Linked DNA regions of Homo sapiens: all the other regions are linked to region 6. Evidence: promoter capture Hi-C in 16 types of primary human blood cells and fetal thymus (Javierre and others, 2016). All regions are on one chromosome and are shown on one strand. The core of a region is centred on a gene start or on the middle of the fragment in contact, and the rest is flanking DNA. Distances in the headings are between cores, read along the strand shown. Region 1 has its middle 580 kb from the start of NYAP2. Region 2 has its middle 560 kb from the start of NYAP2. Region 3 has its middle 510 kb from the start of NYAP2. Region 4 overlaps LOC105373914 (a long non-coding RNA gene). Region 5 overlaps LOC105373914 (a long non-coding RNA gene). Region 6 holds the start of IRS1 (insulin receptor substrate 1). Region 7 overlaps LOC105373914 (a long non-coding RNA gene).

What was found. The method cuts DNA at HindIII sites, captures the fragments that hold promoters and counts their contacts. A CHiCAGO score of 5 or more calls a contact.
Region 1: a contact is called between a fragment that was not itself captured here and the fragment with the promoter of IRS1 in region 6, in 1 of 17 cell types (fetal thymus). The highest score is 5.1, in fetal thymus.
Region 2: a contact is called between a fragment that was not itself captured here and the fragment with the promoter of IRS1 in region 6, in 1 of 17 cell types (M2 macrophages). The highest score is 5.1, in M2 macrophages.
Region 3: a contact is called between a fragment that was not itself captured here and the fragment with the promoter of IRS1 in region 6, in 3 of 17 cell types (neutrophils, M2 macrophages and M0 macrophages). The highest score is 5.8, in neutrophils.
Region 4: a contact is called between a fragment that was not itself captured here and the fragment with the promoter of IRS1 in region 6, in 1 of 17 cell types (M0 macrophages). The highest score is 5.9, in M0 macrophages.
Region 5: a contact is called between a fragment that was not itself captured here and the fragment with the promoter of IRS1 in region 6, in 8 of 17 cell types (M2 macrophages, M0 macrophages, M1 macrophages and 5 more). The highest score is 12.6, in M2 macrophages.
Region 7: a contact is called between a fragment that was not itself captured here and the fragment with the promoter of IRS1 in region 6, in 2 of 17 cell types (M0 macrophages and M1 macrophages). The highest score is 8.8, in M0 macrophages.

The regions. Positions count from the first base shown.
Region 1 is chr2:225,978,963-225,982,934 of GRCh38, forward strand. No RefSeq gene overlaps it. Among named protein-coding and RNA genes, the nearest start is that of NYAP2, 580 kb to the left of the region's middle. The HindIII fragment of the contact is 1,099 bases long and covers 1,028-2,126 here.
Region 2 is chr2:225,962,323-225,966,448 of GRCh38, forward strand. No RefSeq gene overlaps it. Among named protein-coding and RNA genes, the nearest start is that of NYAP2, 560 kb to the left of the region's middle. The HindIII fragment of the contact is 2,593 bases long and covers 453-3,045 here.
Region 3 is chr2:225,908,529-225,912,816 of GRCh38, forward strand. No RefSeq gene overlaps it. Among named protein-coding and RNA genes, the nearest start is that of NYAP2, 510 kb to the left of the region's middle. The HindIII fragment of the contact is 1,949 bases long and covers 1,395-3,343 here.
Region 4 is chr2:225,842,010-225,845,919 of GRCh38, forward strand. All of the region lies in intron 2 of LOC105373914 (a long non-coding RNA gene), which reads right to left. All of the region lies in intron 1 of LOC107985992 (a long non-coding RNA gene), which reads left to right. Among named protein-coding and RNA genes, the nearest start is that of NYAP2, 440 kb to the left of the region's middle. The HindIII fragment of the contact is 2,069 bases long and covers 1,005-3,073 here.
Region 5 is chr2:225,884,112-225,888,186 of GRCh38, forward strand. LOC105373914 (a long non-coding RNA gene) reads right to left here. Exons shown (of 7, transcript XR_007088110.1): 2 at 1,546-1,718. It overlaps LOC107985992 (a long non-coding RNA gene), which reads left to right. Exons shown (of 3, transcript XR_001739907.2): 2 at 173-234; 3 at 2,247-4,075. Among named protein-coding and RNA genes, the nearest start is that of NYAP2, 490 kb to the left of the region's middle. The HindIII fragment of the contact is 6,048 bases long and covers 1-4,075 here.
Region 6 is chr2:226,797,838-226,801,962 of GRCh38, forward strand. IRS1 (insulin receptor substrate 1) reads right to left here and starts at 1,983. Exons shown (of 2, transcript NM_005544.3): 1 at 1-1,983. The coding sequence starts at 901. It also overlaps a transcript of RHBDD1 not described here. RefSeq lists an enhancer at 1-71 and silencers at 802-851, 1,842-2,261, 2,282-2,351, 3,312-3,521. The HindIII fragment of the contact is 8,747 bases long and covers 1-4,125 here.
Region 7 is chr2:225,867,976-225,871,853 of GRCh38, forward strand. The region is part of intron 2 of LOC105373914 (a long non-coding RNA gene); the gene reads right to left. All of the region lies in intron 1 of LOC107985992 (a long non-coding RNA gene), which reads left to right. Among named protein-coding and RNA genes, the nearest start is that of NYAP2, 470 kb to the left of the region's middle. The HindIII fragment of the contact is 1,018 bases long and covers 793-1,810 here.

The DNA of each region.
Region 1 (3,972 bases), core at 327-2,826, 820 kb before region 6:
TGTTTAGCTTTATCTTATTCGTTAGGAATCTGCTTAAATGTCTTCTCTGTAGAAGGACCTTTTTTCTCCATATAGTCTTACATAAGTACCTCTATTACTATTTTACCAAATCCTGCTCCTTTCTTTCGAGGCATTTGTGAAAATTCCCTTGGAGTTAGATATAAAAATAAATAAGAGTCGATTCTTATTTTTCATAAATTTAAAATGTAACTGAAGAGACAGGCAAGCATGCCACCATAATAAAATGTGAACAATGCTGTGATAGGGGATTAACAAAGTTCTATGGCAAGACGGGGAGAGGATATATCAATCTGGCCTTTAGCAGGGCAAGAAGTGAAAGCTTCACAGTGTAACAGACAGTTTAGTTAGTTTAGTTGTGAACTTCAGAGTGACTCCGAATTCATGCGAGAGACATGTTTTGATCATTGAAAGAACTGCTATTTGAAAACTGCAGATCTCTGCTTCCTTCTTGAACAGTGCCATTGTTTACCTTTATCCTAAAATAAAGGATGCATTGTCTTTCCAGTTGATATTTTGATACAGAAGAAATGTACATGATACATCATCTAAAGAATATGAAGTCTTACAGAATTCTAGGACAACAGAATGAAAAGGGAGATTATGATATGATAATAGCCTCTGCTTTCAGACTTATTAATCCCCCATTTGTGTCCACATTTCCAAGCATAACTTCCCATTAGCAGTTCAACTAATAGTCACTCAGGGTAAGCAATTAGTTTTATGGCTAGCTGTTCTCTGCTCCACAGAAAAATTAAGAGCTGTTGAAGGATGCAATCTACTAGTAAAGCAACAAAATTAAAAGATTAGGTAGAGATAAGTAAAATAGTTGCATGTAATTTTAGGCTTATGTTCTCTTCCTCATCATTCCACAGTTATTTCTGAACTTATTTTGTTCCCAGATAAAGTATTAGCAGTAGTTTCTATTCTACTGTGTTTTGTTGATAGTGTGAGTTTGATTTAAAGAGTGGGGAGGGGAAAGCATTTTTAACTGTGATTATAATACTAAAGCTTTTCAAACATTGCCATGACATTAGTTTTGGGGTCCAAATTACCTGTAGCTCAACTCTCTACAGTAATTTCATTTTGATATTTATAAACTATTTCCAGGTAGATGACCTTAATCTATATCATAGTTCATAAACTAGTCAGCAGTATTAGACAATGTTCAATATTTAGGTCAAAATATGGATTGCATGTAAATACTGACCTTGAGCTACCACAAACTGAGGTACACTTAAATTCTGAGCAAATACAATAATTTAGGACAGGTAGATTTATACACATAATGTAAATAACCGTTTTTCACACTGATGACTCCTTAAATTACTAAAGTAATGATTATAGTCAATACAATATAATGTGATCTTGTTCCATTAAACACAGGATGCTGTTAGTGTGTTAGTGAAAACAGAGAAGTAAGAATCTCTGAAAGCTCACCCTTCCATAAAAGCAATAAAAGAAACTAGCAAAAATTGCCAAAATTGATTTTTTTTTTTTAGAACTTGGAGAATTAACAAAAGGCTTGCAGCAACCAGAGGAGAGTTTAGTCAAGAAAAACTGTTGAATATCAGTAAGAACAGTGGGCTCTGTCATGTTTTAACTTACCCTAGTTTCATCTTCTGGTTTTTGTTTCAGTGGTAGTCGGTTTCATCTTCTGGTTTTTATTTCAGTGGTAGTTTTTTTTTTTTTTTTTAGACCGAGTCTCGCTCTGTTGCCCAGGCTGGAGTGCGATGGCACGATCTTAGCTCACTGCAAGCTCCGCCTCCCGGGTTCACACCATTCTCCTGCCTCAGCCTCCTGAGTAGCTGGGACTACAGGCGCCTGCCAACACGCCCGGCTAACTTTTTGTATTTTTAGTAGAGACATGGTTTCACCGTGTTAGCCAGGATGGTCTCGATCTCCTGACCTCGTGATCCGCCCGTCTCGGCCTCCCAAAGTGCTGGGATTACAGGCGTGAGCCACCGCGCCCGGCCTCAGTGGCAGTCTTCAAAAAAAAAAAAAATCACAGCCTATATTCCTGGCACTTGAGGGAGAACAGACGTCATTCCCAAATGATTGCCATTATTTGACCTGTCTTGTGGTTCCCTGGAAAACCCCACTCCAAAAGCTTATCTTTATGCAAACTCACTTGAACTCCTCCAGTGCTAAATGCCTCAGGGAAGTGTGTGTGTGTCTAATGTTTTAGCATCACAGCTGCCCGAAGCAATGGATAAAAGTTGGGGCAAACAATAAACTAGTCAAAAAGCTTAAAAGAAAAAGCTGCAGAATGAGATACCCATAGGGCTTTGAAAAGCTCCAATATATCCCTGGAAATCTAGAAGGCATTGTGCATGCACAGGCTGTATGCAGCTGTGTTCATGCTCACAAAAGACAGGAGAGGTCCTAAGCTCTTATTCCTCACTGACCTTGAGGGTCAAATGAAAGTACATTAGACAACAACACCAATTCAGATAATGAAGTCAAGAGTACCAGTAAATGTAATAATTTACATTTGTATATGTGTAAAACTCAAAGACATTATAAATATATTTTTGTTTGTATGTCCTATTTTGCTCCTATCTGAATTAAATGACAACTGCATAATTCAATAATTAAAAATCTAAGTTAATTGGCACATAATGTGTAAAGATGTAACCTGTGATAATAGCAAAATGTAAGGAGATGGAGTCTAAAAGAACCAAAGTATTTGTATACTATTGAATTTAAGTTGGTATTAATGGCAATCTCTATACTGACTGCTAATAACTCAAAAACATATCATAAAAAAACTACCAGAAAATTAAAATTGTGCACTAGAAAATGTCTAACACAAAAGAAGGCAACAATGAAGAGATTGCAGAACAAAACAGACCTAAGATGTAGAAAACAAATAGCAAAATGTCAGGTGTAAATCATACCATATCGGTAATTACGTTAAATGTAAATTGATTAAATTCTCCAATTAAAAGACCAGGCTTGGTATTGTAACAACCCCAGGGGTTCACCTTGCCCACTGCCTAGACAGAGCCAATTTATCAAAACAGGGGAATTGCAATAGAGAAAGAGTAATCCACGCAGAGCTGGCTGTGCGGGATACCAGAGTTTTATTATTACTCAAATCAGTCTCCCCAAGAATTTGAGGATCAGAGTTTCTCAGTTTAATTTGGTGGATAGGGGCCGGTGAGTCAGGAGTGCTGATTGGTTGGGTTAGAGGTGAAGTTATAGGGAGACAAAGCTGTCCTCTTGCCCTGAGTCAGTTCCTGGGTGGGGGCCACAATATCAGATGAGCCAGTTTATCTATCTGCATGGTGCCAGCTGATCCATCAAGTGCAGGGTCTTCATAATATCGCAAGCACTGATTTTAGGTTTTACAATAGTGATGTTATTCCACAGGAGCAATTTGGGGAGGGTTAGAACCTTGTAACCTCCAGCTGCATGACTACTAAATGGTAATTTCTAATCTTTTGGCTAATTTGTTAGTCCTGCAAAGACAGTCTAGTCTCCAGGCAGGAAGGGGTTTGTTTTGGGAAAGGGCTGTTACCACCTTTGTTTCAAAGTTAAACTATAAACTAAATTTCTCCCAAAGTTAGTTCAGCCTACACTCAGGAATGAACAAGGACAGCTTGGAGGTTAGAAGCAAAATGGAGTTGGTTAGATCAGATCTCTTTCACTGTAATAGTTTTCTCAGTTATAATTTTGCAATCATGGTTTCAGTATAATGGGAAAGAAAACAAAACTGGGATCTAACTATATGCTGTATATAAGACATATACTTTAGATTCAATACAAAAATTAGCTAAAAGTAAAAGAATAAAAAGATATACCATGCAAATTGTGATCAAAAGAAGTCTGAGGCAGACATACTAATATCATATAAAATAGGCTTTAAGACACAAATTATTACCAGAGATAAAGAAGTAAAGAAGTAAAGATTGAGTAAAATTAAAAAGGAGAAATAGACAATTTTGCAAT
Region 2 (4,126 bases), core at 499-2,998, 840 kb before region 6:
ATATCCTGAGCTACTACTCAGGAACATAAAATAACAAACCATTAGTAAATATAACAAGATACATGAATCTCCAGAGGATCGTGGAAAAATCACATTCCCAAATCCAAAAAAAAATCAAAATAAAGCCAATTCCCAAAGATTATATACCGTAAGATTCCATTTATCCAGCATTCTTGATTTGCCAACATTGTAAAAGCAGCAGAAAGAGTAGAAATTGCCAGAGGTTACAGAGTGTGGGGGTGGAATGAAAGACATTGTGGCTATACAGGGATGATTGTTGTGGTAATAGAAATGTCCTGTATCTTGACTGTATTAATACCAATATACTGGTTGTGATATTGTACTATAGTTTTGCAAGTTTTATTATTAGAGGAAACTGGGTAAAAAAGAAATGGAATCTCTTGGTTATTTCTTACAACTGCCACGGAACCTACAATTATCTCAAATTAAAAAGCTTTATTATAAAAAACAAAAACATGATTTCTCAATAAGTTCAGAAAAATCATTTGATAGATAATATCCCCTGTTCATATAAAGAGCCTTAGAAAATTAGCTAGAAAAAAAAACTTCTTTTATCTAATACAAACATCATGTACTGATAAAATTTTGGAAGATTTTCCTATAAGGTCCACAATAAAGCAAGTGTGGTGCTATCATAATTCTGTTTAATATTGTACTTGTGGTACGAACAAGTATAATAAGGTAAGAAAAAGAAACTCTAAAATGAAAAATACAATATGTACAACTTAAATATAAATATATGTATATATACATATATAAAAGATGGACTAAAGAGCAGAATGAAGAAGACATTAAAAGTTAGTAAATTTGAATGTGTATATATGCATTTTCCAATTAGAGGCACAGAGAGGAAAAAACTTGAAGAATAAAGCTGGACCTCTATCTGTCAGCATATACAAAAATTAACTCAAGGTGGATTAAAGACTTCAATATAAGACCTGAAACTATAAAACTACTAGAAGAAAACATAGGAGAAACACTTCAGGACATTGGTCTGGGTGAAGATTTTACTGCTAAAACTTCAAAATCACAGCAATCAAAATCAGCAATTGACAAATCAGACTATATTAAACTCAAAATCTTCTGCACTGAAAAAGAAACAATCAACAGAGTGAAAAGACAACCTGTTGAATGGGAAAAAATATTTCCAAACTGTTCATCCAACAAAGGACTAAATATCCAGAATATACAAGGAACTCAACCTGACAGTAACAAAAACACCAACAAATAATCCCATTAAAATATGGACAAAGGACATGAATAGAAATTTCGTAAAAGAAAACATACAAAGAGCCAAAAGGTATATGAAAAACTGTTCAGCATCACTAATCATCAGGAAAATGAAAATCGAAACCACAATGAGATATGATCTTAGCACAGTTAGAATGGCTATTTTTAAAAAGACGAAAGACAACAGATGCTGGTGAGGATATGGAGAAAATGGTACTCTTATATGCTGTTTGTGGGAATGTAAATTAGTACAGCCTCTGTGGAAAACAGTATGGATATTTTTCAAAAAGCTAAAAATAGAACTACCATATGATCTAGTAATCCCACTACAGGGTATTTATCCAAGAGAAAGGAAATTGATATATCAAAAGGATACCTGAACCCCAATGATGTAAACACACAGCACTAGTCACATTAGCAAAGATATGGAATCACCCTAAGTGTTCATCAATGAATAAATTTTTAAAGAAAATTATATATATAATTTATATGTAAATTTATAATATATATATTTAATGTACACACATACTATTTGGCCACTAAAAAAAAAATTATGTCATTTGCAGCAACATGGATGGAACTGGAGGTCATTACATTAAGTGAAGTAAACCAGGCACAGAAAGATAAATATTCATGTTCTCACTCATATGTGGGAGCTAATAAATATTGATATAATGGAAGCAGAGAGTAGAATGATAGATACCAGAGGCTGGGAAGGGTGTGTTAGGGAGAGGGTAAAGAGAGGGTGGTTAATAGGTGCAAACATGTGGTTAGATAGAACAAATAAATTTTAGTATTCAATAGCAGAGTATTTGATAGAGTAGTGTGGATATAGTTAACAAGAATGTATTGTGTATTTCTATTACTACTATTATGTAGTAGTAAATAGAGTAGTGTGACCATAGTTGACAACAATGTATTTTATATTTCAAAATAGCTAGAAGACCTAAAATGTTCCCAATACAAAGAAAGGTAAATTAATACTCGAGCTGATGAATACCGTAAATACCCTAATTTGATCATTACACATTCTATGCATATAACAAAATTTCACATGTACCTCATGGATATGTACAAATATGGTGTATAAATAAAAAATACAAATCTAAAAATATAGGTAAAATACAGGCTAAAGTAAAGCGAAAAGAAAGTGGTATTTCATGCAAACAGAAAACATAAGGCTGGAACGGCTAATACTATCAGACAATACATTTCAAGATAAATAGTGTGAGTATATCCAAAAATATCTTTCAAAATCAGAGGTGAAATAAAGACTTTTAAAGACCAAAAAAAGAGAGTATTATTACTAGCCGACTTGCATTAAAAGAAATGCTAAAGAAAGTTTTAAGATAAAAGGAATATGGTAACAGAAACTTGGATCTACACAAATAACTAAAGATCTCTGAGAATGGTTAAGATGAAGATGTTTTCTAACTGCTTGAAATAGTTAAATGAAGACAAATCCAGCCTTCAGATTTATTAAAGAACCCATAAGGACCTTCACCAGACTCTAGACTTTGTGGACTTTGTTTTAACATTTTACTGAATGTTTAGGCTCTTTATAAATATTTATCAAATAACATAGATCATATATTAATTCACTTTGTATCTCTGAAAACTATCATATGCCTGGCCCATCAAAAGCATGAAATAAATGTCTGATTGAAGAAAATAAAGATGGTAAAAATACTCTTTTAAAATGATTCACTGCTGTACCCTTTGCCTTGGCTGATAGTTGATATTAGAATCATACACTTGAGCAACATTATTTTCTTGAGAAACCAGAAAGTGAAAAGCTTCCTTATTCTGTTTAACTTTGTCCCATATAAAACCATAAAATAAACATGTGACTTGGAAAAAAATAAGGAAAAGCAAATCACAAAATCCAAATTTTTTATCTTTGCCTCTGCTTCCAGAAAATCTAAAGCCAGTATTAGATTAAACTGTTAGAAATTAGCTTATTTCAAATACCTCACTTAAATAGGCTTATTATATATGGATCTCAATTCTTTTGTTCCCCATGGGAAATCATTCAAAAAGCAGGCTAAAAAATTACACATACAAATTCCAGTGATAAAATAAATTGAAAATCGTGGTTCAGTGGTACTTGTATGTCTTTATTTTCTTCCATAGTGTCATGTAATGATGTCAAGCTGAGAACGTCTCCCAAGACCAGTTGTCAGAAGAATCTAATACTGGAATTCATGAAAGAGACCTTAAATACTGCTTTGTTACTAGTGTTCACATTATATGTATTACCAGCTTTTCTTCACAACAGCTCCAACCTTCAGGAAATTTGTGGAAAATACTATAAAGTGAAGACAAGAAAGACAACTATAAACATTGGATGTAATATTGGGACTACATATACAGGATGGGTGATAATTCTCCCTACTAATGTACTCAATATTTTCACTGAAACATGATTTTCATGGTTTTAAGTCAATTAATTCATGGCTGTCTAAAGAAGTGATCTCTTTGGACACTTGTGTGTTGGCAAATTCTCTTTACTGGTACCATATAGAATCTTCAAGTGCTTCATGAGCAAGTGTTTTCTGTTAAATCTCTCTCTCTCTCTCTCTCTCTCACACACACACACACACACACACACACACACACGCACCCCTAGTATAACCTGCTTAAATGGATTGGAAATCTCAATTTTAGGGGACTTAAAATTCCCACCACATTAAATGAGATAAATGGTTAGTGTGATACTGGATGTACAAGAAGCCTGTTTGTTTCTAATACTCGGGGTCCTTTAACACCCCTGCTTAATGTTCATCTGTGATTTCTCAAACCACTGAGAGAAACTTTAAGCTCTCTAACGTCACCTTCAACACCTCTGTTTTTTATTTCTCCTTTTGTTCCTATT
Region 3 (4,288 bases), core at 1,119-3,618, 890 kb before region 6:
TCATTAACTGTCACATCTTTATCTGAAAAATGTCTAAATTTTGCATTATCTTGAATGATAATCTAGTTGGATATAGACTTCAACTGGGTTGAAATACTCTTCATTTATTTACATAAACATATCTCTTTTTTCTAGATTATGTCCCTTAAGAGTGGTAATAATATCTGATTCATTTTATAGTTGCCCAATAGGTAATCCACAAATATCTGTGAAGAGCATGGCGGGAGTGACCCTTCTCATCAATGGCAGTGTCTTGGATAAACCTCATTTTAAAGGAAAATAATGACACACAATTTATTCTTTCTTTTGACCATAGGTAAAGGCAAATCCTGGAATTTTTTTACAGACTTGAGGAGTAACTAAGGTGTATCTCATGGTCATTCTTTAACTCCTTCCTGAGATCTTTTTGAGTTATTACAATATAAAAAATGTTAGAACCTAATTTTTTCATTAAAATAGTAGTAACTGACAAAAGAGCAATGAATTATTTTTGTAAGGTTTTTTTGTTTTGCTTATCTTTAAGTTGTATCAAATGCCCTCCAAAGATACAACCAGGATAAAGCAACTTTTTAACTTTCAAAATTTGAGCTACTTTAAGGTTTACATTCCCTATTAGTACTGGTATTTCTTTTATGCATTTAAAAAATAAATTTCTAATTGAACTGTGCCTTTGTAAATATGCATATAGAACAGTATGTGTACAACCAAGATAAGCTAGGTTGGAGTGGATCTACGTTGAAAGCAACTCTGCTAACACCGTACACTTAAAGAGCACTTTAAAGATGTTACAACAAAGATGTTTAGTTACTTTTAAAATTACAAGTTACTGAGCACATCTACAGAATCCTTATAGAATGGATGCCAAATATCTCAGTATTTGATTAGAGGAAAAAAATGAAATATATCAAGCCCTACGAAGAATGAAAAGATGAGTGAAAAAAAAAGATGACTGTCTATAAAATAGCACCCATAGACTTCATTCGTTCATCTGTCATTCATTATTAGGTTATTCATTCACAATCATTTACTGGGGATCTATGAATGTGTCAGAGACTATGCTAGCTGCTGGGTTATGAATACTGTTAAGTGTAGGCCCCTGCCTCAAAAAGTTTATAATTTAAGTGAGCATATCATTTAATAATATAATATGATAAATCCTTCACTAGAAGCACAATTACAATGAGGAAAGTATCACATTTGAGAAGCAGTCCCAGTGCTAATGCATATCTACTTACCCAGAAAATGTAGCAGAAGGACTTTCTAGGATAGAAATATGCAACTCCAGGTAGAGTGGCAGGTGCACCCCTGATATGAAGACGGCAGTATGTGGCTGTTAGATCCTGATGCTATTAAACATTGGGAGCATTACCATGACTTCATTTGCTCTAATTCCAAGCTTATCAAGGCCACTTCCTTTTATATTCAACTTTTTGGGTGAATACACTTAAGGGAAGAGAATGGTGCTGGGCATTCCAATAGAAATATACCAGTGACCGGCCAGGCGTGGTGGCTCACGCCTGTAATCTCAGCACTTTGGGAGGGCTAGGTGGGTGGATCACGAGGTTAGGAGTCTAGACCAGCCTGACCAACATAGTGAAACCCCATCTCTACTGAAAATACAAAAAATTAGCCAGGCGTGGTGGCAAGTGCCTGTAATCTCAGCAACTAGGGAGGCTGAGGCAGGAGAATCGCTTGAACCCAGGAAAGGGAGGTTGCAGTGAGCTAAGATTGCACCACTGCACTCCAGTCTGGGTGACAGTGTGAGACTCCTTCTAAAAAAAAAAAAAAAAAAAGAAATATACCAGTACCCTTGACATTATATTTTTATTGTCAATTTACATTGTTGTGTAAATATATTTCCAGGTGCTTGATTACCGAGTAGTTCCCTCCCCTGCTTCTCCCCAGAGATACAGACCCTCTTCATCTGCTGCATAAATCAGTCTTCTGAGATGAAAGCAGAGTTCCAACCCTGAACCTTAGAGAATTCATCAAAGCAAATGCCACCTTGTTTCCCTGATGGCACTTCTGATCTCACAGCATGTCCTTTTTCAAACATCTACAGGTACATGTGTTTGTTATGAATATTTTACTCAGAATTCTTTTGTACTCTCAATTTGGGGTCATGATTGAAGTTAGCTGATGCCTAGAACATCCTTGTCCAAGAGCAAGGATGTTAATTATTCCTGGGTACAAGGGGTTCTCACGCTCCTCTGCACTGGCCCCATCCCAAACTTGAAACCAATTTTATGTCTCTTCACTCTCACCACGGAGTATTCACTTGCAACAAAATCCCCTTAAATTGATAGATTGTGCAAAGACTTTGTGGAGGAAACCTGGAGAGTCTGTGTGCAAATCACACAGAAAAAAACACTATTTGACTTGTTCATTATTTTTGTACCCCTCAAACTTCCGTGTTGGCTGTGCTCAAAGAAGCCTTTACAGAATCCGGGTACCCACAATGCTCTGCCTTCTGAAGACCAGCACTCCTGACTCGTGATTCTGAGGTGCTTTCACATCCATGGGGAGGTGGGTCCAGTCTCCATGCACCCACCAGTTATCCCTAAACCAAATTTACTTGTGGTAAATAAAGTCCTCTCCATCTCGTTTTGCGCTTTCCCTCGCACCCTGGTTTTGCATGTATGAGTTTGTATATCTCCAGCTTATAACCTACTTCCTATGCCTAATTCTTGCTAAGAAAGGTATTTTAAAAATTACCACAAACTTGGCAGCCTAAAATAGCACAGATTTATTACTCATAGTTTCTGTGGGTCTGAAATTTGGGCGTAGTGTGGCTAGATTTTCTTCTTAGAATTTCACTGGGATGAAATTTAAATATGATTTGGGGCCATGGTCTCATTTGAGCTCAAGTTTCTACTTCAAGCGCATTGATTGTCAACAGAATTGATTTCACTGAAGCTACAAGATGGAGATCCCCATTTTTCTTCTAGTTGTTGGCCGAAGTCAACTCGCAGCAAATAGAGGTTGCTGTTAGTTCCTTACCATGTGACGCCCCGCAGGTAGTTTACAACCTATGTTTGTCTTCTTCCAGGTGAGCTAGTGCATGTCTCTCTGACTTTCATTTCTGTGCCTGGTCAGAGAAAATATGTGGATTTTAAAGGGCCGGTGCAATTAGCTTAGGCTTACCTGGATAACCTCCCTTATCTCAAGGTTCACTGAATTAAGACCTAAATGATATCTGCAAAATCGCTTCATAGCAGTTACCTAGAATAGTATACTAATTAACTGGGAGAAGGGTTGTACACCAGTGGCTGAGAGTCTTGGAGAAACTATCTCAGAATTCCTCCCACTGCAGTCAGGTTTATTGTGAAATAAATAAAGAATAAGCTTCAAAATTGCTCACTTGCAGAACATTTTCCAGGAATCTGGGATGAGCCCTCTCTGTGTGTTCACATGTTCTTATTTTTATACAATTTTTGCAAAAGTCATATATTTTGTTAATATTTACTGAAGAAAACTGTTGCTTACCACTCCAAATTCCCTCTACTTTTTGTTTGGTCATGGCATTTTGGAGATTCAGCTAAGGGGAAGCTGAGTTAGGGATGTTTTAACTTCTATTTAGTGGGATGTTTTTATGTGGTCCCTGTCACTTCTGTATGCTAGCTGGGGACAGTTTCTGGGAGTAGTCCCACTGCTGTCCATTCCCACTCACCTGCTGGGGGAACACAAAGCCAGGCCTGCATTGTGTTATGAATGGGAATCATGGAACCCAGTCCCAAAAGCAGGCGGGAAGAGGCAAATGAGTTAAAATGTATAGAGCTGGAAGCTAGGCTGTTGAAAATTCTTCACAAAATCAGAAATATAAAATTACAATCAGGGAATTTGTTTCTCATCAAAGCCTGATTGAGAGCAAAAATTTCTACTTTCAGCAATATTATGAGTAAGGCAGTATATTCAATCAAAAATTCACAATGCTTTTTTTTTTTACTGGAAACACAATATTTAATAAAGTTCGAGTACATCATTGGATGTACTCCTTCCAATTTGGAAGGATGATTGAGATAGTTAAAAAAAATACACAAATTTGGCTTATATCTGTATGGTGTGTACTATCTTTATCAAATTTAAATATATTGATTAAAGAGTTGAAAGAAATTTCTTATAAAAAATGATATTTTAAACAAAAGTAATAAAGTTAAGCAATGAAGTCAATTGAAATTATTCTAGTACTGAGAATAAATTATAGCCAAAATATACACAGATTTTATCAAAAGTAATAATTCTTTAAGAGAAAGAGACATATTTTTAGTCACAGTAGTGAATAGTTTCT
Region 4 (3,910 bases), core at 789-3,288, 960 kb before region 6:
ACTTGAGGCCAGGAGGTCAAGACAATACACTGCTCCCCACCAGTGTAAATCCTCCCTGCCACTCCCTTGCCCTTGGCATCCCTCTATGTAGCAATTAACTTGGAGATATGTCCACAACGTACTGGTGAGTGAAAAAAGGAAAATGTAAAATAGATCTCTCATATTATCCTGTTTTTCTTTAAAATGATGATCAAAACCCTGTATCTATATGCATGTTTATAGGAAAATAGAAATCACAAATATTTATAACACATATATATTCATTATTTCATATCAATTGAATCAATTGAAATCAAATAATCATTGAAATGATTACTGAGCATGAGAAAGATAAAAGGCTACTTTCTATGTTATTAACATGGGCTATGGGAGACCAGATGAGAGGGGGATGGACAGGAAGGAGAAGAAAAGACAGAATATAAGCAAAAACATATTTTAAAGTACTGCATTAAAAGCATATGTATGATTTGACCACATCTGTACAGTTACATACATATCAGGGTGGAAATGTAACATCACTTTTAATAATTTCAAAAACAACAGAAAATAACAAAGTTTAATACTCTCAAGCTGAAAATTTGGGATTCTGGTTTCAGAATTCCATGCTGTCTGATGATACGAAGATCTGAAATCCTATGGGAAGAACATGCTAAAAGCTCAGGCTTGGGAGCTAGCTGATAAATCCACAACCACCGCTAAAATGCTGAATTTACTCCATCAGGAAGCTCTTACCATTTGCTTTAATTGCAAGTTAAGAACTGACTCTTTTAGTCCAATACAAAAGCATACACATAATAGTCACTCACCACGCCACTGCAAATTAGTATTCAGAATGAAGGCAAACTTTTAAAATACCATTTTCTTTAGAACAAATATAATCAAATGGTTAAAAGAGCATTCCAATGATTTTTACTTCATTTCCTAGCTTTGTTTGCTTGTTTAATTATCCAGAAAATTGTGACACAAGTGACTTAATTTTTTACTGTAATCTTTATAAACACAAAAGCTTGAATTTCACTAATTCCAAGAAAGCAGAGCAGGGGTGGGTATTGGGGTCATGGTTTGTACCTGACACAAAACAAACTTTTTAATTGTATCTAATCAGAAACAGATTTTGTTTTGAATTCCGATGTTAAATCCAGCAGTTCACATTGAGAAATCTGTGCAGAGGCACCACAGATTTCTCTATTAGTCATTCATGCTGCTTTGTTCATGTCACTGTGACCCTGCAAAGAACACAGTGTCCTTAGAAACATTAAAATAATGTTCTAGGTGAACCTCATAAAGTACATTAAAGTTATAACTTTATCCTGTTTAAAGGACTGCAAATTTACTAAAAGATAGAAAAAAGTCTTTTTAATATATAATCTGGATTAAGGTACATGTTAGGTTTTGGAGGATCTATTGCTTGTATCAAAGTCACTAGATTTATAGTATCAGCAACTTATTATAAATTAATAGGATCAGGTTAGTATCTTTTTATCTTCTGAACAGTTCTTTTAATTTTAGGCAAAAAGACAGTGTAAAGAATCAAACAGAACATTGCCAAGCAAAGCCTTTTATTTCCAATTCTACTTTGGTCCCAGGTAGTATTTAACTATTTCCAACAAACAAAAATAAATATCATTTTTCATAAAGAGCTTCACAGTCAATCTCTGCAATCAAAGGAGTTTCTATGAAACAGATTATTCAGATAAATGTCTTTCTCTCATTCAATAAATAAACATTGAGTTAGACAAAGATTTCGTTCCAAGTTTTGAACACTTGCTGGTCACAGATGGACCAGTAAAACACAAGCCTGTTCTCAAAATGTTTACAGGCTCAGACAGAATAAAATGTGAGGGTCATCCTAATTATATTTGTACAAGGAATTGTGTAAGCATAGAAAACTATGAAAAACATAATTTTGATTACATTATTTATATATTTTTGTAATATGAGTAGTTCCAAGATCAGAGTTATGGCCACACATTGCTCTAATTAAACACTTAAAGCCACCTACAAGGTCTTAGGGCTATCAAGCAGCCAAATCCACGTGCGTGAGGCACAATTGAGATGATGATTTTATGCCAAATTCTATATCTTAACAAATAGAATTACATCAAGTACCATCTTCCTTTTAGAAAAATTATACTTGTATTTCTCAGACGTGGAAGTATCATTAGGAATTTGGATCTGTTCACTATGGAATAGTGCATGCCTATTTGGAATTTAATTTCTTGTTCACGTATGGAAAATGAATTATGTAACTTAAGCTGACATCTGACCAGGTACTTTTCTCTCCAACTCTCTGTCATTAGATGATGATGAATAAAGGCAGTAAAAATATTTTCTCAAAATCTAGGCAAATAGCCTGGAATTGTTGATGATCACTTAATAAAAAATTTTGACTTGTAGATTTTCTTAGGAAGCTGTAAGCTCATGAAAGTATTGAAGTTGATGATTTGAAAGATGTTTCATTTTTGTTTTGTCTTTTTAAATTCAGTACTCATGAAATGAGTTTTTAATTTTAATTTTTTTTAATTTTATTTTTTTGAGGCAGGGTCTGGCTCTGTCTCCCAGGCTGGAGTACAGTGGCATCAACTCAGCTCACTGCAACCTCTACTTCCCGGGTTCAAGCCATCCTCCCACCTCAGCCTCCCAAGTAGGTGGGACTACAGGTGCACACCACCACACCCAGCTAATTTTTGTATTTTTTGTAGAGATGAGCTTTCACCATGTTTCCTAGGCTGGTCTCGAACTCCTGAGCTCAAGTGATCCTCCCACCTCAACTTCCCAAAGTGCTGGGATTACAGGCATGCGCCATGGCACCCAGCCCCGTGACATGAGTTTAAAAAATAAAAGTCCAGGATGACTTATTTATGATTTATTTTCATACCAATTTGCCTTCATAGTTATCAATCTCTATATGAAGTTTTATTTGGATACAAATAAATAAAAAAAAAATTATAGGCCCCAAAGAGCTTTTGGAAGAAATTTTTGGAATGAACTATGATGCTTAGACTTTTGTGTTTTTTTAAAGGTAATTCTGGTTCAGTTTCATACATTGACTTTTTAACTCTTGGTAGTTGTAAGCTTCAGCATTGACCTAGAATAGCAAATTTAAAATAAATTAGCTAAAGTGTATTCAGATACGTAACTCCTAGTAATCTTTAGGGAAATAATTGGATATGGTTTGTCTTCTTCCTGTTCAGCTAAATATGGATTACCTAGCCATAGCAGTAACATTTATTGCAGGTCTTAGTATGTGTTGGGAACTCTATGAAGCGCTTTGTGAGTACTATCTCAAATAAGCCTTCAACAACCCTATGTAGTGTGCATTTGCATTAATTAAAAGGAAGCTGACTGCTATAACAGGGAAATCCCATCATCTGAGTACCTTACACAAAGATATTTTTTTCTCACTCATGTAAAGCACAGTTATGTACTTGGGAGCAGAACAAGGTGTATTTTCTATACAGTCTTTCAGGTGACTCGGGCTGAAGGAGGCACAGTCATATACAAATTACGTGGATTCCAATGATCTTTGTAGGCAATACAATCCACCAAATGGATGAAGGAAAAAATAGTAGAGAATCAAATGGGATAATTTTATTGGCCAGGCTTGGAAGTGGCATACATCATAGAACTCAGTCACATAGCCTTATCTTATTGCACAGGAGGCTGGAAAAGTGTTGCCTAGCTCTGCACCCAAAAGGAATGGGTATATTTGGTGAGTAGCTAGACAGTCTGTACCAAGGTACAGTGTATATTCTACTTTACTGCTAAAGAAAGTAAGGCATGAAGAAATTTCAACTCTAGTATATGACGGGCTACAAAGCACATCTATTACATATTGTCTATTTGTAAATAGCTTACTTTATTATATGTGTATGTCATTAATATGCTGTACTCTGAATGTAAAAGTGCA
Region 5 (4,075 bases), core at 1,497-3,996, 910 kb before region 6:
ATGCATTTCTCAGAAGATATTCCTGTTGTTAAGTGACATGTGACTGTACAGCGGACCCTGGAAAACACAGGTTTGAACTGTGCAGGTCCAATCATATATACATGGATGTTCTTCTGCCTCTGCCATCCCTGACACAACCAAACCAACCCCTCCTCTTCCTCTTCCTCCTCAGCCTAGTCAACACGAAGACAAGGATGAAGGCCTTTATGCTGATTCACTTCCACTGAATGAAAAGTAAATATACTTTCTCTTTCTTACAATTTTTTAACTAACATTTTCTTAACTGCTAATAGATTACTGTTGACTGGAAGCCTTAACCATCACATAGTCAATTAACATACATTTTGTATGTTACATGTATTATATACTGTCTTCTTACCTTATTATAGCTCCAATAGGGGAAGAGGTGGTATTGAAGGGGCCTGGGACTTAGGAAACTTTCAAGCTAGTGACTCAACAATGATTAAAACTGTATTAGCAGATTTATTCTGCGATAATTTCTTGACCCTTGAGAAGTAATTGTAAAGTACCCATGTCATAGAATAAAGCTGCATTACCATGGAAAAGAGCAACTTTTGTCACCAACATTATTAGAGATGTGCTAGAAATCCAATTTCAATTGGATATAAACATTAATGTTCTTCTATTAACATCTTAATCATGAAATAAGGTGTCTTAAATTATGAAATTATAAAATGCCAAATCTGGATGTCATCTAATTCAATTATCCTCTTCTTATTTCTTTAAACAGAGAAGAAGGCATAGACTCAGAATAAGTTTCCCAAAACATACATTATGTTTTTCAAGTTGCAAGCGTTGAAAGCCCAAATCAAATAAATTAGTTACAACAACAACAACGAAACCCCCCAATAACTATAAAACCTAAGAGCAATGCTGTATTCAGGAATAGCTGCGTTCAGGAGCCCAGACATTTTGCAAGGGTTTTGATTCTCTACACATCTCAGGTCAATAGTCCCCTCTTCCCTATGTTGGGTTTCACCCTTGAGCTCTGAGTATGAGCATGGTGACTGCAGCAGCTTCTGCTTCACATGCTTCAAGGTCCAGATCCCACAGGAAAAAGTTCTCTTTTATGTTACCATCTACCCGTGGCTTCACAAAATGCATGAAAATTGCTTTAACTAGACTTGCTGTAGATAAAGTCCCCACTTCTGACCCAATCCTCATGGCCAGGAGAATATAAAGTAGCGATTGGCTTAGATGGCATATAAAGTGGATATTTCATTCTTAAAGTTGGAGGTGGGACTTAGATCTCCTGAGCTAAGAGAGAAGGAAGGACCTCCACAAGCAAAAAATGAGTGAGCTATTACCAGCAGAAAGTAGATTCAAACTGAGGGAGTAAATAACTGTTAAGAACTAATCCAGACAAACAGCCAGCGTGTTCCTTTCACTAAAATATTGCACCCCTTAGAGTCTTTATATAAAAAACATATATACTCCATGCATGTGGTAGGTAGTATATTATTCTCCCATACTTGATGCCTCTCCTGGCAATAAAACTATACTCAGGTGAAACCAGGGACTCACCTTGTGAGCAGAGATACGTGACCCATCTGAGTAGACCCATCAAGGGCCAGCACATGGTCCACCAAGTTTGCTCTTCTTTCTGCCATCATGACCCATAGTACTTCTGCTAGAAGACTTCTCCATCAGCCTGGTTCCCAGAAGTGAAGATGAAACGGGGTACAGACACAGGCAACCTATGAAACACATAGGACATGAGAGAGAGGGACCTTTCTTGATGTGTTGCCCTAAAATTTTAGGATTATTTGTTATCAAAATATAACTTAGCCTGACTGATAAACCTCCTGAAAAGGATCACCAAATTTATTTATCTTTTGGTATTTGTAAACCAAGGAGAATCTTTTCCTCTACTGCTTTTCTGATCTCATTTTACTCCAGAAAAGCTAGGCAAATCAAGGGTTATTTAAATTTAATATAGACTATTTTTGTATATAAAATTAACCATCTTTCACTTCCAGTTCCAAAATGGCGTCACAGAAACAAGTCAGTTTTACTGCCCCCACCGAAAACCAAAAACAAATACACCACATGGCAATTATCATGAGCAATATCCCAGAACTCAAACATGAGAATGAGAGAGTTCCTGGTGTCACAGAGAGATGTAAAACTCTGAGCAGAACAGAATCAGACTCCCGTATCCACAAGTCCCCTATCCCTTTTCTGCCCAGGAAAAAGTACAGTGACAATTTCCTCCTAATTCACAGGTTCTACACTGGAAAAAGTGGGATCAAGGTGGACAACCAGCTTCCCCAGCATCTTGGACTCCCTAGCAGAAACTTTTCCCTGCCTCAACCCACAGGAATCATTGCTAGTGCCTGAAGACAGAAATATCTCTGGGGACATTCCGAGACAAAGTGGGGAGGCAGCACTATCACACCCAGTCCCAAAAACTTTGCTCTGTAACTTGGCCAAAGGAGAAGTGAGATCAGAGTGTCCATGTAACAGCAGAATGATGCAGGAAGGTTGTTCTACAGGCCCTTCGGCAGGAATGCCTAGCTGGCCTTCCCACACTACCAGGATATTACCTTTGGGACCTCTGCCATTCAAGATGGGCACAGTTTGATATGTTACTAGCTCCTAGGCAAACGTGAGCTTAAAGCAGCATCTAGGGCCTAAAAGGAGGCATCAACCTTGTAGGAAAAGAAAGAAAAGCAACAGGTAAATTACAAAGAATATGTAAGTAAACATACCCAATAAAAACCAAAACAAGCCAGACAAAGAAGACTGGAATAAATAACTCATCCTTTAATGCAAAGACATAGACATACATCCACAAGAAACTACAGCAAACAGGGACCTCCTTAAATGGACAAAGAAAGAAACCAGTGGCTGACCTTAAAGAGACAACAACATGTGAAGAGACAATCAACAAAACAAAGTGAAGAGACAACCCACAGAATGGGAGAACATCTTTGCAAACTATCAGTCTGACAGAATTAATAAGCAAAATATATAAGGAACTCAAACAATTCAATACCAAAAAAAGCAAATAATCTGATCTTTTTAATTGGCAAAATATCTGAATAGATATTTTTCAAAAAGGACATGCAAATGACTGAGAAGTCAATGAAAAGTGTTCAACATCACTAATCATCAGAGAAATGCAAGTCAAAATGAGATATCATCTCGCCCCAGTTAAAATGGCTTTTATCAAAAAGGCAGGAAATAAGGGGTGCTGGTGAGGATATGAAGACAGGGGGATACTTGTACACTGTTGGTAGGAATGTAAATTAGTGCAGTCACTATAGAAAACTGTATGGAGGTTCTTTAAAAACTAAAAATCCAACTTCCATATGATTCAGCAATTTCACTATTGGGTATGTATCCAAAAGAAAGAAAATACATAGAGGACATACCTGCACTCCCATGTTTATTGCAGCACTAGGGACAACAGCCAACATATGGAATCAACCTAAGTGCCCATCGGTGGATGACTGGATAGACAAAATGTGGTATATGTACACAGTGGAATATTGTTCAGCCATAAAAAAATGAAATCCAGTCACTTGCAACAACATGGATGGAACTGGAGGTCATTACATTAAGTGAAATAAAACAAGCACAGAAAAACAAATATTTCATGTTCTTATTCATATGTGGGAACTTAAAAAAAAGTGGATCTCATGAAGATAGCAAGTAGATTGGTGGTCACCAGAGGCTGGGAAGGGTAGAAGGGAGGAAAAATGAAGAGTAGTTGATTAATGGGTGCTAATATACAGTTAAATAGAAAAAATAAGACCTAACATTTGATAGATGAGTAGCATGATTCTATTGTTTATTTCAAAATAGCAAGAAAAGAATAATTTGAATGTTTTTAGCATAAAGAAAAGACAAATATTTAAGGTGATGTATACCCAATCACACTGTATGGCAGTTAATATTAGGTGTCAACTTGATTGGATTGAAGGATGCCTAAATAGCCGTATTGGGTCTGACTATGTCTGTGAGGGTGTTGCCACAGGAGATTAACATTTGAGTTACTGGACTGGGAGAGGAAGACTCACCCTCAATGTGGGTGGGCACCACCCAATCA
Region 6 (4,125 bases), core at 733-3,232:
GGGTCAGCCCCACCTGGCTGGGCGGGGGATTGTTGAGATGGTGCCGGCGCAGGGGGACGCTGATGGGGTTAGAGCAGTTGGACGAGGACTGGCTCTTGCTGCGAGGGCGGAACTCATCACTCATGGCCCGCATGGCCTCCAGGATGGTCTCGTGCATGTTCTGGGCCACCACAGAGTCATCCACCTGCATCCAGAACTCCCCGGGCCCCGTCACGGCAGAACGGCCCACCTCGATGAAGAAGAAGTTTTCCGAGTGGCCACAGCGCCTGATGTTCATCAGCTGCAGCACCACGGCCGCTGCCTCCGAGTTCAGCTTCACGAAGCTGATGGTCTTGCTGGTCAGGCAAAGGCGGTAGATACCAATCAGGTTCTTTGTCTGACCCAGGCCCTTGGGCTTCAGGATCACTTGCCAGACCTCTTTGAATGCGGGTCCTGGGGGCACGTCACCGTAGCTCAAGTCCTCCCCAGCCTCACCAAGGCCGGAGCTGCCGCTGCAGCTGCCCCCACCACCTCCCGCCCCGAGGGCCGCAGCTCCGTCGTGGTGGCCCTTAGCACGGTTGTGCAGCTGTAGGAGAGCCTGGTACCAGCTGTCTTGCTCGGCCTCGCTGTCCGCCGCGATGGCAAAGTGCTCGTCCCGGGTGTAGAGAGCCACCAGGTGCTTGTTCTTGGAGTCAGCCCGCTTGTTGATGTTGAAGCAGCTCTCAAGGGGGATCGAGCGTTTGGGGGCGCTCGACTTGTGCCGCCACTTCTTCTCGTTCTCGTAGTACTCGAGGCGCGCCGGGCCCCCAGCCTCGCTGGCCGCGCGCAGTACGAAGAAGCGTTTGTGCATGCTCTTGGGTTTGCGCAGGTAGCCCACCTTGCGCACGTCCGAGAAGCCATCGCTCTCCGGAGGGCTCGCCATGCTGCCACCGCCACCACCAACGCTGAGCAGAGGGAGGCTCCGAAAAACAACCGGGTGGGGGGCGGAGGCTCCTCGCCGCGGCCCGGCACATGCAAACAGGGCTGGAGGCAGCAGAAACCCCGACTCTGAAATCCACGCCGCCCCCCGCGCCGGGGAGGGGCAGCTGAAGGAGGACGCAGCTGCTGAGCCCAGGAGAGAGCCCGACCGGAGTTTTCGGGCGCTTCACGCCCGGCGGGGAGGCAGTGCGTCCGGGGTGAGGGCAGCCCCGATCCTCCGAGAGCCAAGTCTCCTCTCAGCCGCCGCCGCCACCAGGAAGGAGCGAAGATGCATCTCTCGTCGCCCCGGCTGGAGTCCGGCACAGGGAGGCGACAGTCGGGGGTCCCTGCGGTGCCCCTCCAGGAGCGCGCGCGCGCGCGCGCCTTCCCTCCTGAGTTCCCCTCTGGAAGCAGCGATTCCCGAGGCAAATTAAATATCCTTGGGCAGGGGGAGGCGGGTTGCCAAGTCCCAACGTTGCACGGGGTTCTCCCTCCTCCTTCGCCTCCTCCCACCCCCCAACCGTCCCAGCCGCCACCAGCCGCCCAAATACCAGCTCAGTCGCAGAGACCGCGGCGCTGCGGCTGTTGCTGTTGCTGCTGCTGCTGCTGCTGCTGCTGCCGCCGCCCGCGGGCGCGTCCTCTGCAGCCCCCATCCGGGCCCATCTCGGCGGGTGGAGAAAGTGGCTTTTCCATGCGAAACGATACCGGGCAGCCACTGCAGCTGGGGACCGGCCGGAGGGACAGACTCATCCCTGCCCCTCGCTCCAGGCGGCTGGGGAGGAGGGGAGGGGACAAGGGCGAGAGGGGATGGGGGAGGTTTGGGAAGGGTTCGGGGAAGACGCCTGTTCCTCGGGAGGCGCTGCCGCTGCAGTTACTTCTCCCCTCCTCCCTCCTCCTCCTCCTCCTCGGAGAGTTGCCGAGAGCCCCAACCAAAACAAGCGGCGGCGTCTGGCTCTGCGCGCCGGCCCCCTCCGACCGCGCCGCCGTCTCACTCGGAGGAGAAAAACACGTGACGGAGCCTCCGCGCTCGGCAGCCGGGCAGCCGCCGCCGGGAGGCTCCCGCCCGGGTCTCTACATTCCGGGCCGAGCCCGCCCCGCGCCCGCCCCTCTCCGCCCCCCAGCCGTGCTGCAGCGGCGCCCGCGCCGACCCCGGCGCAGCGCTAGGACAGCGCCCCTGCGCGGCCGCCAGCTCCGGCGCAGCGCCTCCCTACACGCGCGCCAACCGGGGCGCCCCCGGCCCGCAGGAATCCCCGCGGCGGGCGCAGGCGGGGGTGTTTGGGTGGCTACCCGAAAGCACGAGGGGAGTCTGGGAAAACGGGAGGGGGCGAGCTCGGGAAGACGCAGGAGTGAGGGTGGGGGGCCACGGGGGGGCACTGCGGCTACAGAGCCCCGAGTGGGAGGCCGGGGGGAGGCGGGGGCGCCGGAGCTGGGCTGCCTCTTACCTATCAGGTAAGACTGACCCACGGGAGGGAGGTTTCTAGTCAAGGCTGTTTCCCCCAGGAAATTTAAAAGCTAGATTTCGGCTTCAGGGCGATAGGCCATGGTGAGGGGATCTGTATTTTTTAAGGTTTTTCTAAAGGACTTCTGGGCCAGCCTTCCACCTTGGGATCCCCAGATTTGCTGCCGTGAGGTACCTGGAAGGAACAGAGGGACGCCCAAGGGCAGTGACTGGGGGCAGTTATGGTCACTACAAAAGGAGAACAGGGATCCCCAGGAAGTGTCTCACGTCCGGCGCTGTGGAATTAGTTGCTGATCAAGTAGGGAGAAAATGTAAATATCACCTTTTCTCCTGCTCCCCTTGCCCATCCGTGTGACGGGGGGACTCACACCTAAGGCTGAGGGCATGGGGGAGGGGAAATGAGAGGTCCCTTATCATATTCCGAAGTCTATCCGTGACTTTAAAAAGCTGTTAGGGACCTTCAGAGGGTTCATAAGGCCAAAACCCTACTGTGCAAATATTGGCTGAAATGTTTGTTTCACACACAGCTCCCACACCCATTGAACCACCCTATAAGTTTTTAACCTTGACCACAAGGATAACAGGGAGAAAACAAGGATGGTGCCAGCTCAACTGTACAGGAAAATGGTTACTTCATGAGTGGACCAGATCAGCAGCCTGGGTCTACTTGAAGCGCCCCTTTCAGGGTCACCTTGCGGTATCAGTCTCCCCACAAACAAACGCTCCCCAGAGTTTTTTTATTTTTTAAGCCGACCTATAAACAAGCAGTTTGTCCCTGCTTGCTCGCCTGGCACTAAGGACCCACAGAGATGTCACTCGGTTTAATGCTGTCTCATTTTGATGCCTGGCCCGTTTGGGGTTGCCGCCCCTTTACTACGCCGGGACCCTCCTCGGCCTCAGGCTCCCAGGCACTGCAGGATGCTGGCTGGGCACTCAGCAGTCGAGGCGCTGGGCATGCTCAGTGGCTGGGACCCGGCGGGCCGCGGGGGAGCGCGCCTCGGCCCAATGCGGCTGAGGGGCGGAGCGAGTTTCCCGGGGAGGCCTGCTGATTGGTGGGATGGCCTGTTTTTCAAGCCTTGCACTGCAGAGGGAAGGTGGGGGTAGAAGGGTTGAGGGTACCAAGGTAGGTTGCAAAGCGTAGTAAAAAAAGAAAAAGAAGATGATGATGATGAAGGAGAAAAAGAACCATAGGCGCCATTCAGGGGTGTGCGATACGTAAATTAGGGGGATTGGGCATCTGCAGAGGGGCTCCTCCCCACCCAAGCCTGGGAGCCTCTCGTTTCTCCTCTCCCCTTCCTGTTCCCGGTCGTCATGCAGCCTCATCTAAACCTGGTTAATCTATAATTTGAGTACACATGTTGAATTGAAAGCCCTCCCTTCTTTTCCTCTGACAGCTTGGTGATGTGGGCACACGTGCCCACTACAGCAAGGCTATTAATAGCAGATATTTGGAAATGGAAGCGAGGCGGCACTCACAGTGACCGAAATTCTGGGGGTATAGAGTGCCTTACAGGGGGTAGGGCAGGGAGGTGCAGAATAAAGAAGCCTGAAGTTGGTGGAAAAGTGTAACTGTGTGCCTGGTTTTACCCTAGACAAGAAAAAAGAGAGATTATAAAAGGGTTGTTTACTAGTAACAATGTAATCCAGATAAGGCCAAAGGGCTTTTCACAGGTTTGATGTTTAGCGCTGGGATGGGGGTAGTGGAGTAATTAACATTTTGTAAGACAACA
Region 7 (3,878 bases), core at 52-2,551, 930 kb before region 6:
GAGGACGTAAGCTGGAATTTGGGACTAGAAGTATCAAGAGAAGAGAGAATAAAGGCTAAGGCTGCATCATGAAATACAAATTCAATCTCTAATGCTACCAAGAAACAACATGAACATACAATATAAAGAACTAATTATTAAGCAACTAAGAATGCTATTATAGAGTGGATATGTGGTGTTGGAGAAGAAAGTAAGTTTGGGGGAGAGTTTAGAAGGTTGGAAAAACAGGTTAGGATATCTGTCTATGCTGATGAAATGTGACTATAAATTGTAGGTAACTGAGAGCCACAAACAAGATCAAGGAGTGAGCAACAGTGGTCTATTTCTATCATATACATTAATTTGGGCTTTTTATATTATCAATAATTGAAACTAAATTGGCCATGGTAAAAACTTACAAGAGTCATTTAATTTATAGTCTACCTTATTTAATATGTACTCTCCTGTACATATTAAACCTGCTTCTGCTTATAAAGACCTCCATTAGATTACACCATTTAATCTAAAATCCAGTTCCAGTATTAACAATCATCATTGCCCGGAGGTTTTGGTTTTTCTTCCAGCAGAAAGGTAGCTGCTTTCTTCTCTGGCTTGCTGGATCCTGCATCCTAGTAACCATGGAGCTGTGATCACTGTACCTTGAAGTCACAATCTCTACCACAGCCTCAGGAGCACTGGAGGCAGGCAGTTTAATTTGCCTTCAATAAATTAGGAAAGTATACTTTGTGGATGCACATCAGAACATTCCGTGCCTTTACAATTTTGCATTCCTTTTTTCTGGACTTTCTGAAAAGCTTCTCTCTAGGCTCTCAGTAAGCAGATTTGCTAATAAATAAACTCTCTGCATCTCAGTGTGCTACATGTAGAGTGAGAGAACCACCCGCCAACACCCAGGTATTTTAAAATCCCAACTCAAAGACTAAGAAGTCATGAAGCCCCCGGTAGTACTCACTATCCAAGAATGGTAACAGATAAGGACATGTTAATAATCAGAACCAGATGTGATGCTCAGCTGATAGGCACCTGGCACTCACTTAGGTCGTTAATATTCAGAATATTCCAGCAAAAACTGCTCAAACAGTCTTCTGTAGTTTTACTCTGTGGTGAAGCCATTCTAGAGGCTGAGTATAGAGTTTTAGTGATGTATTCTGTGGCATTTTAAATACCATCTTGTTTCTTCCCCTTCGTATTATCAGCCCTCCCTCCACACCTTCCTTGGCTACCTCCACTATCTGCTGGTTCCTGAAACCACATTTCTATCTTACAAGTTAATCGGGCTGGAATGCTCTCTGACTTCCATTTCTCAAGCTCCCTCAGTCACAACTCCAGGTCTTCCATCATTTCAGACAACTGATGAAATAATTTGTGAAAGTAATTTGTTTTCTAGTTTTATTGTAGTTTTCTAGTTAACCACTTTAGTTAGTTTTATTATTTGTTCATCTGGAAGACTTTCCTATCAAATATTATTTTAATCTGGCAATATCTTTGATTTGTATCACATTTTTAAGCATTTTATGTATACATGTAAATTTATATCTAAAAACTTATAGTATATATGTATTCATATGTGTGATATATATGTATATACATGATATATGTGATATATGTATATAAATTATATATATAGTCTACATTTGCTTCCTACTTCATGCAAAATATCTGTTCTTTTAAAATGAAAATTGCTTTAGGATGGGGATTAAATTTCTGCCATACTTGTTTCATGCTCATTATTTTATGTATTGTTGGTATAGTGAGCAGAACATCAAGAAGGACATAGTATATGAAATAAATGTACACATATATACAGAAAAGCTTATATGTTTTTACCTTTAAGAATTTAATATTACCTACATATAGTACATATTTGTATCAGTCAGGGTTCTCCAAAGAAATAGAACAAATAGGATATACAGATACATAGTTTATCATAAGGAATTGGGTCACTTAGTTATGGAGACTGAGAAGTCCCAAGATCTGTTGTCAGGAAGCTGGAGACCCAGGAGAGTCTATGGTGTAGCTCTAGTCCAAATGCCATCAGGCTTGAGACCCAAAAAGAGTGGTTATTTCCATTTGAGTCTGAAGGCATGAAAAAATGCCCCAGTTTGTAGCAGTCAAACAGAAGGAAATTTCCTCTTACTCATAGAAGGGCCAATCTTTTTGTTCTATCTAGTTCTTCAGTTAATTAAATGGGGCCCACACACACAGGGAGAGAAATTTTCGTTTCACACTCTACCAATTCAAATGTTAGTCTTATCCACAATACCCTTACAAACAAACCCAGAATATTGTTTGACCAAATAGCTGGGCACCCTTCGTCCCAGTCAAATTAACACATAAAATTAACCACTGCAACATTCAAGCTATATACCTACCTAAAGGGTACTTGTTTTAGTATCAGATAAAGAATATTCTGTGGTTTTGGAATTTAAAATGGGTTGATTGACATCATGTTAAAAAGTATTTTACATATTAAATTTATAACATGCTTCATTTTTAAAGATGTGAACTCACAAACCACACATTTATTGCCTATGCTCATTTTTCCTTTTCTATGGATACTTTATTTTATTTTATTTATTTTATTTTCTATTATACTTTAAGTTTCTATGGATACTTCAAAAAGAATTTAAAAAGAAGTAAAAAAAGAGCTCCTTTATGTTTCAGTAAGCATATTAGATGTGCATATAGAATTAATATATGTATAATATAGTCAAAAAGAAAGAAAATGTCTACTGGGAACAATTAGTTGCAAACAAAAATATTCCATCACTGTCATACATGACCAAGGAAAGGAACAAAACCCTTCTCTATTGGTTGCTCTGGTAAATGTTATTTTTAATTTAATTTAAACAAAAGACATATTGGCCAACAAATTAAAAGTCATATCCTTGGAACATTAAAATGCCTCTGCTAGTTTTTGTTGTCAAGTCTGATTCCAACAATATTCTTTAATGTTGGTTTCTAAGATTTAATAATTTATTAAAATTTTATTTTGGGGTAATTGTATATTTACATGCAATTGAATGCAATACAGACAGTCCCTGAATCATGATGGATCCACTTATGATTTTTTTTAACTTACAATGGTGTAAAAGCGATATGCTTTTAGTACAGTATTCAATAAATTGTGTGAGATATGAAATAGGCTCTTTGTGGGCCGGGTGTGGTGGCTCATGCCTGTAATCCCAGCACTTTGGGAGGCTTTGGCAGGCAGATCACCTGAGGTCGGGAGTTCGAGACCAGGCTGACCAACATGGAGAAACCCCATCTCTACAAAAAAATACAAAATTAGCTGGGCGTGGTGGCACATGACTGTAATCCCAGCTACTCAGGAGGCTGAGGCAGGAGAATCACTTGAACCCAGGAGGTGGAGGTTGCGGTGAGCCAAGATCATGCCATTGCACCCCAGCCTCGGGAAGAAGAGCAAAACTCTGTCTCTAAATAAATAAATAAATAAATGGGATTTCTGTTACATGATCCTGCCTAATTGTAGACTAATATAAATACTCTGAGTATGTTTAATTTGGTTAGGCTAAGCTATAATGTTCGGTAGGTTAAGTGTATTAAATTTATTTTTGACTTAAAATATTTTCAACTTACAGTGGGTTTATTGGGCTGTAACCCCACTGTAAGTTGAGGAGCATCTGCACAGAGAAATCCCTCCGCCCTTCACAAAATTTCTCCAATGAAAACTTCTTGCATAACTCTAGTATAATATCATAGCAGGAGAATTAACCTTGGTACAATCCACTGATTTATTCAGATTTCACAGTTTTATGTGCACTTATTTGTAGGGGTGTGTGTGTGTGTGTGTGTGTGTGTGTGTGTAACTTTGTCACATAGGGCTATTTTTGAAATTGCCACCACAGTCAGGATGT